Linked DNA regions of Homo sapiens: region 1 is linked to region 2. Evidence: promoter capture Hi-C in 16 types of primary human blood cells and fetal thymus (Javierre and others, 2016). All regions are on one chromosome and are shown on one strand. The core of a region is centred on a gene start or on the middle of the fragment in contact, and the rest is flanking DNA. Distances in the headings are between cores, read along the strand shown.

What was found. Contacts are between HindIII fragments. The CHiCAGO score rates a contact against its expected background, and 5 or more counts as called.
Region 1: a fragment that was not itself captured here is called in contact with the fragment with the promoter of KLHDC1 in region 2 in 1 of 17 cell types (monocytes); the score reaches 5.6 in monocytes.

The regions. Positions count from the first base shown.
Region 1 is chr14:50,321,929-50,327,791 of GRCh38, reverse strand. It overlaps DMAC2L (distal membrane arm assembly component 2 like), which reads right to left. Exons shown (of 6, transcript NM_001382507.1): 4 at 5,073-5,281; 5 at 3,676-3,847; 6 at 1-2,183. The coding sequence ends at 2,069. It overlaps CDKL1 (cyclin dependent kinase like 1), which reads left to right. Exons shown (of 10, transcript NM_004196.7): 10 at 1-1,527. Among named protein-coding and RNA genes, the nearest start is that of DMAC2L, 13 kb to the right of the region's middle. The HindIII fragment of the contact is 1,353 bases long and covers 1,175-2,527 here.
Region 2 is chr14:49,688,181-49,694,369 of GRCh38, reverse strand. It overlaps KLHDC1 (kelch domain containing 1), which reads right to left and starts at 1,250. Exons shown (of 13, transcript NM_172193.3): 1 at 1,080-1,250. The coding sequence starts at 1,175. It overlaps POLE2 (DNA polymerase epsilon 2, accessory subunit), which reads left to right and starts at 6,156. Exons shown (of 19, transcript NM_002692.4): 1 at 6,156-6,189. The coding sequence starts at 6,167. RefSeq lists silencers at 876-1,045, 1,056-1,105, 6,044-6,093 and enhancers at 5,398-6,157, 6,158-6,189. The HindIII fragment of the contact is 4,227 bases long and covers 1-1,758 here.

The DNA.
Region 1 (5,863 bases), core at 602-3,101, 630 kb before region 2:
TTTTCAAGTTTATATTCAACAGCTTAATAATGTTCAAACCAGGCTGGGCGCGGTGGCTCCCAGCACTTTGGGAGGCCGAGGCGGGTGGATCCTGAGGTTAGGAGTTCAAGACCAGTCTGGCCAAGATGGTGAAACCCTGTCTCTACTAAAAGTACAAAAATTAGCTGGGCGTGGTGGTGGGCGCCTGTAATCCCAGCTACCTGGGACGCTGCGACAGAGAACTGCTTGAACCCGGGAGGCAGAGGTTGCAGTGAACTGAGATCACACCACTGCACTCCAACCTGGGCAACAGAGTGAGAGTCTGTCTCAAAAAAAAAAAAAAAAAAAAAAAAGTTCAAATCAAACACACAGAAATCTATAAACAAACTGGCATATAAGAGTAATAGAATCAGGGCCATTTCTCACAGGTAACAATGAAGACCTGTTTTATCTATTTTTCACTTTTTTTTTTTTTTTTGAGACAGGGTCTTAATCTGTTGCCCAGGCTGGAGTGCAGTGGTGCCAACATGGCTCACTGCAGCCTCGACTTCCCGGGCTCAACTGATCCTCCTACCTCAGACTCCTGAGTAGTTGGGACTACAGGCATGTGCCACTACACCCAGCTATTTTTTATTTTTTAATTTTTTGGTAGAGACAGGGTTTTGCCATGTTGCCCAGGCTCGTCCTGAACTCCTGGGCTCAAATGATCTGCCTGCCTTGGCCTTCAAAAGTGCTGGGATTACAGGCCAGCCCTTTTTTTTAAGAGACAGGGTCTCCCCCTTTCACCCAGGCTACCAGGCTGGTGTGCAGTGGCCGTGATCATAGCTTACTGCAGCCTCAAACTCCTGAGCTCAAGCAATCCTACCACCTCAACCTCCCAAGTATCTGAGATTACAGGTATGCACCACCATGCCTGCCTAATTTTTAAAATTTTTTTAGAGATGGGGTCTCACTGTGTTGCCCAAATTGGTCTCAAACTCCTGGTCTCAAGTGATCCTCCCACCTCAGCCTCCCAAAGCACTGGGATTACAGGCACGAGCCACGGCACCCAGCCTAAAGCAATGTTAGGTTTCAAGAAAAACCTAAGCATAGCCCACTAGTTTTTACTGTTTCCTTTATTATATTGCAATCTGCAAAACTATTTGTATTCAGCCAAGTATCTATGTCCAGTTTTAATAAAATAGTAGCCTAAGCTTACAAAATAGACAAATTAAGCAGCAACTGTTGATTCTGAGTAAGTCTGTATGCTATCAAGAACACAAGAATGCAGGATCATGGGAAATGCACGCAAATCCTGTTGAAGCAATGCATGCTTCAACAACCACTGACCACTTTGCATAATTGACTCCATCAATGAATCTGTAATTTAGCTTCTAATTTTTCATAATTGTGCATTTATGGTAGTATGCTTCACTAACTTTAAAGTTAAATGTAAATTACTGTTATAATAAAAACATCTGTTGTACAAATAACTTTAAAGGATTCTAAATATCTACATCAAGAGATATCTATAGATTTACATATTAAATGAATATATTAGAATTAAAATGTTACCTAGTTTACATTTTTCTTTTTTTTTTTTTTTTGAGACAGTCTCGCTCTGTCACCCAGGCTGGAGTGCAGTGGCACAATCTCGGGTCCCTGCAACCTCCACCTCCCAAGTCAAGTGATTCTCCTGCCTCAGCCTCCAGAGTAGCTGGGATTAAAGGCGTGCACCACCACATTCAGCTAATTTTGTTTTTTTAGTAGAGATGGGGTTTCACCATGTTGGCCATGGTTGGTCTTGAACTCCTGACCTCAGGTGATCTGCCCGCTTTGGCCTCCCAAAGTGCTAGGATTACAGGCATGAGCCACTGCGCCTGGCTGCACTTTTCTTAAAATGAATTAATGTTCATAAATTCTCACTTCCAACTTAGTAACATTAATGAGCCACGTCTGAATATTTATTTTCTACATATGATGCACTCTCCACTTCTAAAATGTCATGATATGGCATCCTTATAATTCTACTGATGACTATATAATATTAGTTGATGTTTGGAATCAACAGTTTCAAATGATCCTTTATACTGAAATAAGACACATTATTTTACTTCAATTGTAATTTTAGTTCCAGAGAAGGCAGTGCTGTCTTAAAGGCTTGGACAAGATTTTCTTTTTCTCTTACTCCAGGAAGATCACTTAACAACAAATATTTGAGGTTTCTGCAAATAAAGAAAAAAGTCACTTCAATTTGGCCAAGAGCATTAAAAATAAATTCAATTTACTGACTTAAAGAAAGAAAATTATGTAGAAAATGAATCTATATCACCCTATGCCTTCAAAATTACTTTTAGAGCAGTAGCCTTAGAGATGAAATTCATGCCAGGAAGTAACACAGACTTTGGGTTACATCAATATTTCTAGCTGAATCATTCTAAATAAAATATATATTTATAATGATGTAGATATTCTTTGCATGTGAAACATGAAATGTGAATCTCAACCCCAAAAGGGCAAAAGCTGGGAAAATTCTTAGATACTAGAGTTTCTACTAAAAGATGAAGCTTTGAAGCTTCAAGTAATGTAAGAGATGAACAATCTAGTACTTTTGGTCCTAATGTTTAAAATTTCTTAAACTTCCTGTGATACTGAGGTTACTGGCAGATCCATTATATATTAAAGCAGAACTACATTAATTAGATACATAATTTGAATGTTGAGATCTCTAACACAGGGATTTGATTAAACAAACTTCTAGGCCGGGCACGGTGGCTCACGCCTGTAATCCCAGCACTTTGGGAGGCCGAGGCGGGCGGATCATGAGTTCAGGAGTTCGAGACCAGCTTGGCCAACATGGCGAAACCCCATCTCTACTGAAAATACAAACATTAGCCGGGCGTGGTGGTGCACGCCTTTAATCCCAGCTACTCAGGAGGCTGAGGCAGGAGAATCGCTTGAACCCAGGAAGCGGAAGTTGTAGTGAGCCAAGATCATGCCACTGCACTCCAACCTGGGCAACAAAAGCAAGACTCCGTCTCAAAAAAACAAACAAACAAAAAAACTTCTATTCTTTTTTCATCACGCCGATGAGACTCAGAATCTTACAAATTTTAGAATTAAACATTCCTTGCTAGTATTATCTGTTTTTGCATTTGGGATTAGGTGACTTGCTCCAGGCCATGGCGTGGGTCTGGTTGGTGGCACAAGAGGATGTAGAACAGCTTTCCTAACCAGTGGATGCATGCTTTTGATGATTATTACAGTGTCAGGCAGTGTTCTAGGCTCTAGAGACAGAAAGGTGAATATTTCAAGGTTTTTCTCCCCTCAAGCAAAATAATTACACAGTAAAATGCTAATAGGTATATACCAAATGTCTTGAAAATATTAAAACCATAGGAGAAACTGCTTTAAAAAAAAAGGAGAGAAAGCATAATCGTTGATGCTTACTGAGGGCTTACTGTGGCAGGCACCATGCTAGGTGCTTAATGTAGATTTAATTTTTTAAAATATACTCTATAAAAAATTCAATACAACATTAATGTATTAAGGTTGATCATTTTAGCTGTTTTAAAATATTACAGATGAAAGTGAGGTCATTTTTTAAAATTATCTTTTTTAGAACTAAAAAAAGACACCACCCCTCACAGTCAATTAAATTCTAACTATTCACCTTAACAGCATTATCAAGTTTCCACTTTGGCTTTGATCATCTACCTTAAATGACGCAAAGCAATGATGCCTTTGTCTGTGATATTCCCACAGGATATTATTTCCATTTCCAATATGGTTTTTTGTAAATTTTCAAGTTGACTAAGTCTCAGCAAACAGTCATCCTCGATATAATGACACTTGCACAGCCTTATTTTTTCAACATGCTCTAGGCCCTCTGGGGAGAAAAAGTACAGATTAAGAATCTGCTTTACCACTAAGATGACAAACTGTCCTGGTTTGCCCACGACTGACTTGGTTTTAGGACTGAAAGTCCTATGTCCTGGGAAACCTCTTAGTTCCATGAAAACTGGAATGACTGCTCACCCTATTAACCATATAAGGAATTCACTATAGAGCTTGTGCTGATGGACAGGACCATTCCGCAGTCAGATGCCCACACACTGGAGGAAAGAAATGCCCACATAGGGCCAGGCCCAGTGGCTCACACCTGTAATCCCAGCACTTTGGGAGGCTGAGGCGGGTGGATCACCTGAGGTCGGGAATTCAAGACCAGCCTGGTCAACACGGCAAAACCTTGTCTCTACTAAAAATAGAAAAATTACCCTGGCGTGGTAGTGCACACCTGTAGTCCCAGCTACTTGGGAGGCTGAGGCAGGAGAATCACTTGAACCCAGGAGGTAGAGGTTGCAGTGAGCCAAGATCACGCCACTGCACTCTAGCCTTGGTGACAGAGTGAGACTCTGTCTCAAAAAAAAAAAAAAAAAAAAAGAGGCCGGGTGCAGTGGCTCACACCTGTAATCCCAGCACTTTGGGAGGCCGAGGCAGGCGGATCATGAGGTCAGGAGATCGAGACCATCCTGGCTAACACGGTGAAACCCCATCTCTACTAAAAATACAAAAACAAAATTAGCCGGGCATGGTGGCGGGCGCCTATAGTCCCAGCTACTCAGGAGGCTGAGGCAGGAGAATGGCGTGAACCTGGGAGGCAGAGCTTGCAGTGAGCTGAGATCGCGCCACTGCACTCCAGCCTAGGCGACAGAGCAAGACTCTGTCTCAAAAAAAAAAAAAAGAAAGAAAGAAAAAAAAATGCCCACGTAAGCAGAAGCTGTGTGGATATAATTATTCCTGCATTATTGAGGGCTTCTCAATGACAGAAGTTTGACAAAGATAGTTTGACAAACAAGGCCCTGGATTTTAAGTCAATAAACCAAAGACTAGAGACATACAGAAACAAGCTTAGTGAGAGGAGGAAGGAGAGGAAGGTGTCTGTAACCTCAATTTAATTTGAAAATAAATATCAAACACAGGAAGAAACAAACTTGACTATAATGAAATGGGCAAAAAGGACATACCTATGACTATAATCGTGAGTCAACTGCAACAAAATGGTCACTGCAAATCATCTGCATTTTCTATTAGCAAAACGATAGGGTAGTTACCCATGTGATCAAATCCAATGCTCATGATACAAGAGTCGGTGGCGTCGATCGCCTGAATCTTGTATTTGTCCAGAGGGCCTGTTGGAAGGTGGTTGTAGTCCTTCTGCCACCTCTCCTGGCCATGGTAGCGCACCATGGCCCCACAGCGCAGCAACCACTCGGATGCCGCCCTGTCAGGGCCAACATCCCTGATGCGATCATAATCCACCCTGTTGGCAAGAGAAAAAAAGCAGTTTGCTTTTACAATAATCACTAGCTTGTTAACTATATTAACTGACATAAATAATACAGAACGCAACAAATTTTCATTTCAAGTGACTGACGAGGAAGATAAATTAGTGAGATCCATGCAAAAAAAACAAAAACAAAAACAAAAAAACCTGCAGTCTATCTGCTGACTTTTTTAGTTTTGTTTTTGTTTCCACGTGAACGCTGTCAAGGCGTATTATTTTTATATGAATTTATCAGACACAACGTTTCATTGATTCACATATAGTACAGTGCTTGACACCAGAGATACTTAGTAACTATTCTACGAATGACTATACTTGGTTAGAATTTGTATTAATAACAAAAGATTAAAGAGAAAATAATTCTGAATCTGTGGTCAAATTAATCTCATTAAGTGATATTTATTAATTTCTACATATGCTTTTTTCTCTAGCTAGTGATCATAATGCTGTATTAAGTAATTAGAAGGTTAGTTTCAAGTTTCAAAATGACATTTCTAAGTGTGCCACCCACTAATTTTTTGAAAACCCAAGTTACTTTGATAGAATTCAAAAGGTTAA
Region 2 (6,189 bases), core at 1-2,500:
TCACATAATGGTAGGGAGACAGAAGATGTAGGTTCTACTATCAGTAGAACTTCCAGATGGCTTAAGAAAAAAAATCTGTAAACTAAGAGGGTTGGCATATAGTATTCCTGTTTTCCAGCTTTACCATTCTTGCTTCTATAATTCTGTGATTATGGACACACAACACACACATACGCTCAAACCTCCATTGTAGTAAGAATTTTAAAGCATAATATTTCTTAGCATATTATTGCTAACATGCGTCTATTTTGAGACTAGAAAAAATAGTCATTAGTAAAGAAACGCCACTAAAAATAGCTTAGAAATATTTAAAATGCAAGCCAGGCACAGTGGCTAATGCCTGTAATCCCAGCATTTTGGGAAGCCAAGGCGGGCGGATCACCTGAGGTCGCGAGTTCAAGACCAGCCTGACCAACATGGGAAACCCTGTCTCTATTAAAAATACAAAATTAGCCAGGCATGATGGCACATGCCGGTAAGCCCAGCTACTAGGGAGGCTGAGGCAGGAGAATCGCTTGAACCCGGGGCGGGGGGCGGAGGTTGCGGTGAGCTGAGATCGTTCCATTGCACTCCAGCCCTGGGCAACAAGAGCGAAACTCCATCTCAAAAAAAAAAAAAAAAGAAAAAGAAAAGAAAATAAATATTTAAATGCTTCAGTGATTTCGATATTTTATTTCGAATCGCGCCGTGGGAATAAGGAAATATATACAAAATGATACAGCACGGCGTCCTCGGGTCCTTCTAGGTCTGCGCCAGTATTTAAGGATAATAATTAATCGCGCTGTAACTGCCTTTGCATTGGGCAAACCGTGGTTACTGAATTGCTGGCAAAGAGGGGCGGAGAGTGGTAAGAGGCCCGGAGCCGGGTCTGAGGCTTTAATAGAAGAAGCAACGGCGGGACGACGTCAAGCCCTGGCGCGGCTGTGGGGGCGGCGGCCAGCGGAGGGGCTGGGGGGCTGCAGGCGCCGGGCGCGCCAGGCCTGGGCCGCAGCCTCGGGAGCGGGTGTGGCGGGCGCTGCGTCCGCTCAGGCCGAGGGTCTCCCGGCGCGAGTCTACCCCGTCCCGCCTCTTCCCCTTACCACGTAGCCCCCCCACACGTAGAGGAAGTTTCCGTCCACCACGGCGCAGTGGCCGCTGCGTTCCTCCGCCACACAGAACAGCTGAGAGTCCGCCATTCGCGCCGTCGCTGGCCCGCCGCTTGCCGCGCCACAACCCCTGCCCGCCCGGCGGCCTCGCCTCCAGCCCCGACTGCTCCACGCACGAACGGAACGCGGCGAGGGTCGAGATTGGTGGGAAGGCGGAGCCAGTGCGTCTGCAACGTCCCGCGGCTCTCGCTCGGGAAGTCGAGCCAGGGGCGGCGCGGCTGTGGAGGGACGTTCTGGCTCCTCGCAGTGGGCAAGGGGCCTGGGCTTTCCACGCGCAGATTCCTTCTCTCTTGGAATTGTGTTTTGGCAGTACAGCCTCATTTAGTAGTCAGTCTGTAGTCAGATTCCTTGATTATCTCAAAATGTCTTTTCTATAGTTGGTTTGTTCAGCACCGTAATTCGTTGTTAACGCCTCTTAAGACTTTACGTCTGTTTTACTCTAGAATAGCTTCTCTCCCTTCTCTCTTGTGCCATTTGTTTGTTATATGGATTAGTTTTCTTATTTTCCTACAGCCGTACCACCTTCTGGGTTTGGTTCCTCAGTGTCTTTTCTCATTAACTTGTGCATCCTTTCCCCATACTTCTTTTAGGCTGGAAGCTGTATCTAAAAGCTTTATTAGATTCTAGTTCAGATTTTTTTTTGGAAAATACTTCATATTGCATCACATTAGAAGGCACTTAAGTCTGGTGCACTTTAATGATACTTTCTATTGTTTATTTTTGACTATACAAATAAACAGAGTATCTGCTCCTTTTCTTACACAAAAGGAAGTATATACAGTGTTCCTTAACTTTCTCTTTTCACTTGACGATCCATATCAGGATACAGCAAGCAGTCTCCTCAGTCCTTTTCATAGCTTCATAGCACTCCACCGATTGGATGTGTCATAGCTTATTCAAACAGATTCTTATTGATGGACATATCGGTTATTTCCAGGTTTTTTTGGCTATCATAAATAATGCTGCGATGAAACGTTATGCATATGTTATTTTGTATTTGTACAAGCCTATCTTTGGAGTAGAGTTCTAGATGTGGAATTGCTGGGTCAGAGGATAAATGCATATTTAACTTTACAAATGTAACTGGATTGCAGTGGCTCACGCCTCTCATCTAAGCACTTTGGGAGGATGAGGTAGGCGGATCACTTGAGCTCAGGAGTTTGAGACCAGCCTGGCCAACCTGGGCAATCCCGTCTCTACTAAAAATACAAAAATTAGCCGGGCGTGGTGGCGCATGCCTGTAATCCCAGCTACAAAGGCAAGAGAATCGCTTTAACCCGGGAGGTGGAGGTTGCAGTGAACCGAGATCGCGCCACTGCACTCCGGTCTGGGCGACAGAGCAAGGTTCCTTAGAAAGAAAGAGAGAAAGAGAGAGAGAGGGAAAGGGAGAGAGAAAGAAAGAAAAAGGAGGAAGGGAGGGAAGGAAGAAGGGAGGGAGGGAGGAAGGGAGGAAGGAAGGAAGAAATTCAAGATAGACAAAAGTGATCTATGATAATAGAAAGCAGAAAAGTGGTCATTTGGGAGTAGGGAGGGGGAGGGGACTGATGGAAAGGAGTACAGGAAGTGTTCTGGAGTGATTAAAATGTTCTGTATCTTGATTGAGGTGGTGGTTACATGGGTGTATACATTTATCAAAATGCATTGAACTGCATACAGATATGTGCATTTTACTTAGTGTAAACTATATGTCAATCATAATTCTCACTCCATCACTTTATTGTTACTAGTAATATTGGTATTGTATTTTTGAAATGGAGCATTTGTCCTCCTGGACTGTAGAGTCTGGTGGAGTCTATAGACCAGCAAACAGACAATTACCATACCGTGCAGTAAGTGTGAAAATAGCAAAAGTCCAGGGCACCTTGGGTGTACAGAGGCCCTTTAACTCAGATTGAGGGAAGACAGGGAAGGTTCCTGAGAGAAAGTAAAGTCTAAGTTAAGAACTGAATGATGAACGGAAGTTGTTCAAGGAACTTTCATTCGTGAGAGGGAAGAGTCAAGGATATGCCTAGTTTACCAGCTTGGTCACTGGGTGGGAGGTGGGTGGAGCCCTTCGCTAGGTTATTGAACATGGGAGGAGGAACAGGTTTGGGGGAGGGCAGGGCTAATGGTGAGTTCATTTGGAGGCATATTGAGTTGGATTTGAAGTCTAAGAGAGCTAAGGGCTAGAGATAGGGATTTTGGAGTCATCAGCATATAATTGTTCATTTAAGTATTGGGACTTTATGAGCTGGCCAGGTGAAGGAGCCATAGAAGAAGTTGAAAATTTATTAGAGAAAGAGAATTATGATTGGGAACATTTATGGGAAAAGGGGAATTGTGAGGTCAGATTGTGAGAGAAAGCTGGGCAACTGGAATTGATTATTTTCTCTCCAATTTCTTAATATAAAAAGTAGCAAACCAAAAAAAGTTGAAAAAATAGTTCAAAGAGTACCTGTGTATCTTCCACTCCAGGTTAATAATTATTAATACTACCATACTAGCTTTATGTTTGTTGGTATGTGTGTGTCTGTCTTTTTCATTTTGTTGAATTATTTGAGAGTGGGAGTGCCTTATGGAGAAAATACATGTGATAAATAAGCTTCCTTCAGCTATGAGTTATAGGGCTCTTGGCCCTGAGTTCAGTGTTAACGAATCACAATGTAAAGATGTCTTTACATAAAAACACACATAAAACAAGGTTATAGGCCGGGCGCGGTGGCTCACGCCTGTAATCCCAGCACTTTGGGAGGCCGAGACGGGGGGATCACGAGGTCAGGAGATCGAGACCATCCTGGCTAACACGGTGAAACCCCGTCTCTACTAAAAATACAAAAATTAGCCGGGCATGGTGGCGCGCGCCTGTAGTCCCAGCTACACGGGAGGCTGAGGCAGGAGAATGGCGTGAACCCGGGAGGCGGAGCTTGCAGTGAGTCGAGATCGCGCCACTGCACTCCAGCCTGGGCGACAGAGCGAAACTCCGTCTCAAAAAAAAAAAAAAAAAAAAAACAAAACAAGGTTATATGTTGATCAGTTGATGAAAACATTGTCACCAGAGGCTCACAGGAACCTAATTCTGTACTTCCCCTAGTAGGAATGGTTTAGTATTCAATAATTATTTGTTGGTGGCTACTTATAAAATCTAACTATCACAGGTACAGTAATGAGAATTAACTATATGTCTTTCTATTCGTATTTCCTATCCTTTCTTACATAAAAATTAAAAATTTCTTTGTACTTTTTGTCTTTGAAAAATATTTCACTAAATAAAGAGAACTGTGTTCAAAAATCACTTGTGATGTTATGTTACCAATTTAATATACAATTAGGTGTATTAGTTTTAGTATGCATTCAATTTTAAGCTCACCTTTTTATTTTCTATTTTTTGAATATGTAAAACATGCACATGGATTAAAAGTCTCACTGTAAAGAAAGTTTTCACTTTCATCCCTATCCCCTCACCCCTTTGTAGTTAACCATTTTTGTGGTCTCTGATTTAACCTTCCAGAGTTGTTTTGTTGTTGTTGTTGCTGTTGTTTTGAGACAGAGTCTCACTCTTGTTGCCTAGGCTGGAGTGTAATGGCCCCATCTCGGCTCACCGCAACCTCTGTCTCCCGGGTTCAGACAATTCTCCTGCCTCAGCCTCCCGAGTAGCTGGGATTACAGGCATGCGCCACCATGCCTGGCTAATTTTTTTGTATTTTTGTAGAGACGGGGTTTCTCCATGTTGGTCAGGCTGGTCTCGAACTCCTGACCTCAGATGATCCGCCCACCTCGGCCTCCCAAAGTGCTGGGATTACAGGCGTGAACCACTGCGCCCGGCTTTTTTTGTTTTTGAGACAGAGCCTTGCTTTGTTGCCCAGGCTGGAGTGGTGGCACGATCTCGGCTCACTGCACCCTCCGCCTCCGAGGCTCAAGAGATTCTCCTGCCTCAACCTCCCCAGGAGCTGGGATTACAGGCGCGCGCCACCACGCCTGGCTAATTTTTTTTTTTTTTTTTTTTTTTTGGTAGAGACGGGGTTTCACCATGTTGGCCCGGCTGTTCTCGAACTCTTGGCCTCAAGTGATCTGCCAGCATCGGCCTCCCAAAGTTCTGGGATTACAGATGTGAGCCACCGCGCCCGGGCCCAGAGGTTTTTAAAATGCAAAAACAAATACATATACTTTTGTTTCCCTTCCTTCATTAAACTTCGCTTTTTTTTAAAAAAGAAAAAAACCCGTATACGTTGGAGGTCACTTTATATTGGTACTGTGAAATCATCCTCCTGTTTTATAAGCCGCGTGTTTACTTATAAGCACTCCACGGGTTAGTCAACTCATTGGAGCAAGCGTTTTGAAGTGTGGCAGATTGACAGTCCACCTGAAATCAGAATAACTGAGTTCAAATCCTGACTACACCATTTAACTCGTCGTTTCATCTTGAGCAAGTCCTTTACCATTTTTGTGTCTCAGTTTTCTCATCTGTAAAATGAGGCTGTTGTGGAAAAGACAGTAGACAGCTCACTGGGCTGTCATGAGCAACACATGAATTCACACATTTAAAGTGCTTATGACAGTGCATGGCGCATACGAAGCCCTCAAGTTAAATAAAAATCGGGGTAGGTGGGAGCGATGGAGATTTATAACAGCTTCCGGTAAATGTCGAGGCACAGTATTTCCAGAGCTTGTGCGAAGTAGGGAACCCAACAGCTCTCATGGCCTCGAAAGAAGGGGGATCCTGTGTCCGGGAAGCTCGGCCGCAGTCCTGCAATGTCTAGGGCAGCGGTGAGAGCGCTGTGGCTGGCTCAACGCAGCCCGACACCAGGGAAGACGCTCTGGCCCTCAGTTTCCCGGCAGCAAAGGAGCGCGAGGTGGTCTCCACTTTCAGCCTACTCGGTCCGGGGTTGCGAACTGTAAGGTCTGAGTTGCTGCGGCGCAGGCAGCGGAGACCAAGCAGGGATCTTAACAGGGTTTAGCGCCACGCGGGCCAGGGCCGAGGCCGGAGCTGGGAGGGGCGCGCCCGGGAAGGGGCGGAGCTGCGGCGGTGGCGCCAAATCGCAAATATGGCGCCGGAGCGGCTGCGGAG